2 separate regions of the Homo sapiens genome follow, and region 2 is linked to region 1. The links are contacts of gene promoters, found by promoter capture Hi-C in blood cells and fetal thymus (Javierre and others, 2016). All regions are on one chromosome and are shown on one strand. Each heading gives the region's core, a stretch centred on a gene start or on the middle of the fragment in contact. The rest is flanking DNA. Distances are from core to core; before and after follow the strand shown.

Region 1 (4,132 bases), core at 688-3,187:
TTACCTAACTGCAGGTGACAGCTGCCATGACATAGAAATGACATTGAACTTAAGGAAAACACTATACTGTTGCAAAATCCTTGTTAAAACCAAACATCTTAAATGCATTTGAAGCAGCGTGTCTAAGCCACGTAAAATCAAACCCTTGATAGTTATTAGCTGGCCTTCTTCTATAAAGAAAGCTTTCTTTTTTCTTTGTGCTTATTTAATGGGGTACAATCAATTATAGACATAATTGGTGGCACAGGGAAAATAATTATTTCAAGTAGTTTTTAAACACTAGCTGTATAACTAAGAGGGACATATAAAAACAGGGATTGGCAAACTTTTTCTTTAAAGGGCCTGATAGTAAATACAGTCAATCTTCATTCACAGATTCTGAATTTGTGAATTCATCTACTTGCTAAAACTTTTTTATAAACCCAGAGTCAATATTTGCAGCACCTTTGTGGTCATTTGTGGACATCCGAAGAGCGGTGAACCTTTTTGAGTCCCTTAACAGGCATGTTCTCAGCCAAAGTCAAACAAAGTGACCCTCTATCTTCTTATTTCAGCTCTCATACTGTAAACAGGTACCCTTTTTGCAGTCCATTTAGTACCTTGGCTTCTCATATTTTTGTTTTTTGCTGGTGATTTTGCTGTTTCAAAGGGACCCCAAATGTAGTAGTACTAAAGTGCTGTTGATGTTCCTATGAATGAGAAAGCGGTCATGTGTCTTACAGAAAAAATACATGTGTTAGATAAGCTTCATTCAGGCATGAGTTATGGAGCTGTTGGCCATGAGTTCAATGTTAATGAATCAATAATATATATTAAAGTGTTTAAATAGAAACACAATAAGGCCAGGCGCGGTGGCTCATGCCTATAATCCCAGCACTTTTGGGAGGCCAAGGCGGGTGGATCACCTGAGGTCAGGAGTTTGAGACCAGCCTGGTCAACATGGTGAAACTCCGTTTCTACAAAATACAAAAATCAGCTGGGCATGGTGACATGCATCTGTATTCCCAGCTACTCTGGGGGCTGAGGCAGGAGAATTGCTGGAACCCGGGAGGCGGAGGAGGTTGCAGTGAGCCAAGATCCCACCACTGCACTCCAGCCTGGGTGACAGAGCAAGACCCTATCTCAAAAAAAAAAAAAAAAAAGAAAAAAAGAAAATAAACACAATAAAATAAGCTTATGCATTCATCGGTTGACTAAAATGTGACCAGATGCTTACAGGAAACTAACCCTGTATTTCCCCTAGAAGCAGTGGAATGGTATTCACTAATTCCGTGTTTGTAGCAAGTTTATAGACCATAACTACTGTGAATAGTGAGAACTGACTGTATTTTAGGCTGCGTGGGCCATCTGGTCTGTGTAACTACTCGAGTCTGTCCTTGTAGCTCAAATATAGCAATAGACAGTACACAATCAAACACGGCTATGTTCCAATAAAACTTTTATTTATGGACACTGAAATTTGACATGTATGATTTTCATATTTCACAAAATATTGTTCTCCTTTTCATTGTTTTTACCATTTAAAAATACAGAAATGGAAAATATAGGAACTGGCTTCCCCGAATCTCCGGAGTCACACGGTCTCAAATCCCAACAGCCACACCCAGTGAAAGAATCCCACCCAGGAGCGCGCCAGGGACAGACTCGCAGCGCCGTCCTCGCTCACAGGGCTCCCTAGTTGGCACTATAGAGAGGCGGTCGCGGGCGCCCCTCTTTAACGCGCCAGCCATCTGTCCCCGCTCCCCTCCAGGCCCTGCCGCGCCGTCCCCAGGCGCTAAGGGACTCGAAGCGCAGCCTCGCTGGGACGGACCTAGCTCCGGCTCCGGGTTCACGCAGAGCAGGGGCTGCACCAGCGAGCGGACCCTTGAGACTGGCCGCGCCTGCGCACTCCGTGAGCGCGCCCGGCCCTCCCAGCAGCCTCCGCGCGCAGCCCGTTAGGCCCCGGGGATTGTGGCGTGACCCGGCAGCGGCTTCCTCCGTTCGGGCATCGCTGTGCCTCGGGTTCGCGCCCCGAGTGAGCAGTCCTGGCCCGGAGCGTCGGTCCTGGTAATCTGTAGGAAAAGCGCTGCGGCCCAGGGGGTAAAGAGAGGTAAGCGGGGCCACTGCAGTATCGCAGAGGGGCGGGAGCCCGCGCCTCAGGCCCGGGTGTGTGTGTCGTGGGCGTGACGGGGCCGGGGCTGGGACGTGACGGAGTCTGTGCGGCTGACTTGGGTGCAGAGACTATTGTATGAGCGAAGGTTGTTGTGGCCGTGGAGTGCGTGACTGACCCCAGCATCCTCTGCCCACACCGGGCCCAGCTGCAGAGAAATGGCCCTCGGTCAGTTTCTGCACGCCAAAGACTCCCAGCAGAAACGCGCAGACTAGGCCGGACCAGGTGGCTCACATCTGTAATCCCAGAGCTCTGGGAGAGCGAGGCGGGAGGATCGCTGGAAGCCAGGAGTTCGAGACCAGCCTGGGCAGCAAAGCGAAACTCCCATCTGTACCAGAAATTTAAAAAATGAGCCGGGTGTGATGGCGTGCTCCTGTGGTCCCAGCCACTCGAGAGGCTGAGGCGGGAGGATGGCTTGAGCCTAGGAGGAGATTGAGGCTGCAGCGAGCTATGATAGCACCACTACTCTCCAGCCTGGGCAACAGCGAAACAAGGCTCAGACCCGACCTTGGGATAGGAATATTAGAACTGAACGAGCCCCCGCTCCCGCCCAGGCTTGCTCCTGGAAGGGACTCCCACACCACCTCCTCGCGGACCCGGACCCACGCACGTGCACTCACAACTCTGAAGAGTCCAGCTGCAGGTTTCAGAACCACAGCATTGCTTCCAGGAAGCTATTGTGAACTCCAGTTCTAGCCCCGGGCATCCATGACCCTGGCCTTTCTTTGATACTGGGAAGAGTTAACAACACCATCTCTCTTATGTTACTCTGGTTATGTGTGGGTGGGCGGTGGGGGCATTGTGCCCTATGCGAGGCTGGGCTGCAAGAAAAGCCTGGTTCCCTTATTAGCCAGTCCTGCCCAATTCTTTAAGAAAAGGGGTCCGAGCGGGAGGAGGAATGAATTGCTGTTGCCTGTTTAAGTCAAGGTCGAGGCGAGTGGGTGTTTCTGCTTTCTTCTGTGAAATGCATTCTTATTTCTTAGGACATGAGAATATTTGTTTCATTCTCCATAAATGTCCTGTCCATTGAGCTGATACCTAGGTCCCCTCCCGAGAGCCTGTATGCACATACCCATTTGGTAGATGTTTTTCATTACTTCTGTGGGCCTTCTTTTAATTACTATGTGTAAAGTTCTTAGAACAGTTCCTGAGACCTCGTTAGTACTTAATAAACCTTAGTTATGTATTCTTAAGTAGTGATTTGGAGCAATTCTACATCAGCCTTCTATAGATGGGGGGAAAATGAAAATACTAAGCCAATTGTGGTGAGTATTTCCTAGTAAAAAATAAATGAGCCAGATCAGATGCTTAAATAGTCTAAAACAGGAATTCTTTTTTTTTTTTTTTTTTTTTTTTTTTGAGACAGGGTCTTGCTCTGTCACCCAGGTTGGAGTGCAGTGGCACAATCTCAGCTCACTGCAACCTCCCTTTCCGTGGTTCAAGCGATTCTTATACCTCAGCCTCCCAAGTAGCTGGGATTACAGGCCTGCACCACCACACCCAGCTAATTTTTGTATTTTTAGTACAGACCGGGTTTTACCATGTTGGCCAGGCTGGTCTCAAACTCCTGGCCTCAAGTGATCTGCCTGCCTCGGCCTCCCAAAGTGCTGGAATGACAGGCATGAGCCACCGCCCCCAGCCTAGAACAGGAATTCTTTTTTTTTTTTTTTTTTTTGAGACGGAGTTTCGCTCTTATTTCCCAGGCTGGAGTGCAATGGTGTGATCCCAGCTCACCGCAACCTCCGCCTCCCAGGTTCAAGCGATTCTCCTGCCTCAGCCACCCTAGTAGCTGGGATTACAGGCATATACCACCACGCCTGCCTAATCTTGTATTTTTAGTAGAGACGGGGTTTCTCCATGTTGGTCAGGCTGGTCTTGAACTCCCGACCTCAGGTGATCTGCCCGCCTTGGCCTCCCAAAGTGCTGGGATTACAGGCATGAGCCACCGTGCCCGGCCATAGAACAGGAATTCTTAACCAGAAG
Region 2 (4,063 bases), core at 1,253-3,752, 820 kb before region 1:
CTATATGCTCTTGCAATAACTTTTTTTTTTTTTTTGAAACGCAGTGTCACTCTGTTGCCAGGCTGGAGTGCAGTGGTGTGATCTCGGCTCACTGCAACCTACACCTCCAGGGTTCAAGCGATTCCCCTGCCTCAGTCTCCCAAGTAGCTGGGACTACAGGCGTGCACCACCACGCCCGGCTAATTTTTTTGTATTTTAGGAAAGATGGGGTTTCACCATGTTGGCCAGGATGGTCTCAATCTCCTGACCTCATGATCCTCCCGCCTCGGCCTCCCAAAGTGCTGGGATTACAGGCGTGAGCCACTGCGCCCGGCAGATCTTGCAGTAACTTTCATCTAGTTAAGCTCCCAAGTAAAGTTTTGAAACTGCCCTCTTCTGTCTTCCACTGCCAATGTCATCTTCCAAACCAGAATCAACTCTTACCCAGACCAGTGAAGTAGCCTCCTCAACCAGTCTCCCCACCAAGCTCTCTCACCCTTTAATCTATTCAGGGAATAGTATCATTTGGCTTAGGTTTCCACTGCTCAAAGTCCGAACTCCTTACAATCTCCTGCAAAGGCTGAATGCTGTGGCTCCTGCCTGTCTATCCAAACCCTGACTCACACTCCACTCCCACTTGATCATGGGGCCCACCAACACTGGCATTTAGTCCTTCAAACACACCAAGCTTTTCCCCATCAGAACCTTCACAGGGGTTCTTCTCTCTGCCTGGAGTTTTCTTCTCTAGTAAAACATTAAACAAGACCTAGTGGCAAGCCTAGTACTACATTAATTCTGAAGTAGTGATGAGCATAAATATTTCAATATGCCTACAATAACAGTAAAATAATATGAACGTATCTGTGATTTCCATTAATGTCAAAGTCACAGTAACTACTACTACTACTACTGCTACTATGGTTTGTCCCATACATCACGATAGGAAGAAATGTTATATCTCAATTAGAGGTTATTAAATATAAAGATGTATTTTTGGTCTGGGCACAGTGGTTCATGCCTGTAATCCCAGCACTTTGGGAGACCAAGGCAGGTGGATCATGAGGTCACAAGTTCAAGACCAGCCTGGCAAAGATGGTGAAACCCCATCTCTACTAAAAATACAAAAATGAGCCGGGCGCAGTGGCAGGCGCCTATAATCCCAGCTACTCAGAAGGCTGAGGCAGTAGAATCGCTTGAACCTGCGGGGTGGAGGCTACAGTGAGCTGAGATCACACCACTGCACTCAAGCCTGGGTGACAGAGTGAGACTCCGTCTCAAAAAAAACCAAAAAGATGTATTTTTTTCTTCTCATCCAAGTTCATGGACTCCCTGAATTCTACCTAAAGGAATCCAAAGTTAGGAACCCCTAGAGCAAGAATGATCCTTTGCAAACATGATAATATCACTCTGCTAAATCATTCAATGGATTTACACCTCATTCGGAGTAAAATTCAAGGTCCACAAGACCCAAAATCATCTACAGGTACATCCAACTCCCATCCTGACCTGCACCCAGCATGCAAACACTCATAAGCCTGCTACTTTCCTGATCTCCTCTTCTACAATTCCCGCTTTGCTCATTCAATTTCAGCCATAATGGTGGCTGCCAAAAAGCTCTGAACTCGAGTACTTGGCTCTTCCTGTTCCCTTTGCCTGAATCTCTCCTAGCAGATATTTACATTACCTGTTCCCTCACTTCCTTCAAGTCTTCACTAAAAGAACACCTCATCAGAGAGGCCCTCTCTAGCCTCTCTTCACAGCACTTATCTATCACCCACCACCTGACATTTCATATACACATGGACATATAATAATATAGAAATATTATTAATATATGATATATATTTATACTATACCAATATATTAGTTACATGTAGATAAATGTAAGTGATATATAATTCTAAAAATATTTATATATCATATAATATTAATGTCATGCTAATATTGTTTTATACATATATACTTGACATTCATGTTTATCTTCTGCTATGGTTTGAATGTCTCTCCTTCAAAATTCAGCTGTTGCCAATGTGATAGTATTAAGAGGTGGGGGCCAGACACAGTGGCTCAAGCCTTTAATCCTAGCACTTTGGGAGGCCAAGGTGGGTGGATCGCTTGAACCCAGGAGTTAGAGACCAGCCTGGGCAACATGGCGAAACCCTGTCTCTACAAAAAATAGAAAAATTAGCTGGGCGTGGTGACGTGTGCCTGTGGGCCGAGCTACTCGGGAGGCTGAGGTGGGAGGATCACCTGAGCCCGGGAGGTTGAGGCTGTGGTGAGCCATGATTGTGCCGCTGCACTCCAGCCTGGGTGACAGAGTGAGACCCTGTCTCAAAAAAAAAAAAAAAATTCCAAAAACGAAGAGGTGAGGCCTTTAAGAGATGATCGGGCTTCAAGGACCCATCCCTCAAGGATGGGTTTCGGTGCTCTTACGAAGGGGCTTGATGGAAGGAGTTGGCTCTCTTGCCCTACTGCCTTCTGCCACACGAAGATGCAAGAAGGCCCTCATCAGATGACAGTGCCTTGATCTTAGAATTCTTAGCCTCCAGATCTATGAGAAAATAAATGTCTGTTCTTTATAAATTACTCGATGTGAGGTATTCTGCTGTAACAGCACAAAATGGACTAAGACATTTTCTCTCTTACCCTCTAGAATGTAGGCTTCAGAAGTGCAGAACTTTAGAATGCCTTCATGAATACTACAGTCCCAGCCCTTGGACCAATGCTTGGTACATAGTAGTGCTCAATAAGTACTCTTCTGGTTCTCCTACTTCATCCCAAATCTCTCCTGCTCTGCCACCTCTTCCTTTTTAATATAGGCACAGATCCTTTTTTTTTCTTGGCCCCAACAATATCTCTATACATAGTGATTGCAGTCACTTCCAAGGCTCCACCTACTACTTCAATAGGGATTAATTCCACTTCTACATAGTTAGCCTTTGACTTTCTGCTAAACTCCTTATCTCATTTCTCTTTTATACTACTCTACTTTGTGGAAGTCATATATGTATATATTTTAGCACCACTTTTGGACCTTGAATTTGTAAAGGTAACACAATTAGTAAACTGTAGCACCTGGAAGATTCCCTTACACAAACCAGGAAATTAAAAAACGTTCCATAAAGGAAACATTGAAGACAGTCTGATAAAACAGGTCACTGACAGGCAGCTATAATGAAGACCAGTACTTGGGCAAGGGGTGTGTGTGTGTGTGTCTCTGTGTGTGTGTGTGTGTGTGTGTGTGTGTGTGTGTGTGTGTTCACATGTGTGTATACAGACGCAATTATATTATTTTGGGGAGTGGTAGTAGAAAACACCTGTACAAGTCTAAAAAATGCAGAAGAGGGGCCGGACGCGGTGGCTCATGCCTGTAATCCCAGCACTTTGGGAGGCTGAGGCGGGTAGATCATGAGGTCAGGAGTTCAAGAACAGCCTGGCCAATATGGTGAAACCCCACCTCTACTAAAAATACAAAAATTAGCTGGGCATGGTGGCATGCGCCTGTAGTCCCAGCTACTCAGGAGGCTGAGGCAGAAGAATCGCCTGAACCCGGGAGGCAGAGGTTGCAGTGAACCAAGATCGCACCCTGCACTCCAGCCTGAGCGACGGAGCGAGACTCCGTCTCAAAAAAAAAAAAAAATGCAGAAGAAGAAAAAGAATTAGCCAGGCATGGTGGCACAGGCCTACGGTCCCAGCCACTTGGAAGGCTGAGGCAGGGAGACTGCCTAAGCCCAGAAGTTTGAGCCTACAATAAGTTATGATCATGTCACTGCACTCTAGCCTGGGTGACAGAGCCAGACCCTTTAAAAAAAAAGAAAAAAAAAGAGAGAGAGTAAAAAAAGCTAGCAAGCAGCTGAATCTAAAATACGGGTAAAATAGGGTTTTTTTTAGAGAAGTAAAAGGTACCTTCTGCTTGAAATTAAGAGGAGGATTGGAGAGGAGTAGTAGAAATAGTGGTAAGTGAGGAAAAGGGCGAAACAGGTTATTTAACAACTATGCTAAAAGGACTTCATTTTCTCCACTGGCCTAGTTTCTTGATGGGAGCTTCAGGGATAACATCTCAAAGGTGCTGTTTCCTCCCTGA

Evidence for each region. The method cuts DNA at HindIII sites, captures the fragments that hold promoters and counts their contacts. A CHiCAGO score of 5 or more calls a contact.
Region 2: a contact is called between a fragment that was not itself captured here and the fragment with the promoter of ZFP82 in region 1, in 8 of 17 cell types (total CD4 T cells, naive CD8 T cells, activated CD4 T cells and 5 more). The highest score is 8.0, in total CD4 T cells.

Annotation. Positions count from the first base shown.
Region 1 is chr19:36,416,449-36,420,580 of GRCh38, reverse strand. It overlaps ZFP82 (ZFP82 zinc finger protein), which reads left to right and starts at 1,937. Exons shown (of 5, transcript NM_133466.4): 1 at 1,937-2,089. RefSeq lists an enhancer at 2,409-2,568. The HindIII fragment of the contact is 3,270 bases long and covers 1,176-4,132 here.
Region 2 is chr19:37,236,130-37,240,192 of GRCh38, reverse strand. All of the region lies in intron 5 of ZNF383 (zinc finger protein 383), which reads right to left. Among named protein-coding and RNA genes, the nearest start is that of LINC01535, 14 kb to the left of the region's middle. The HindIII fragment of the contact is 3,665 bases long and covers 670-4,063 here.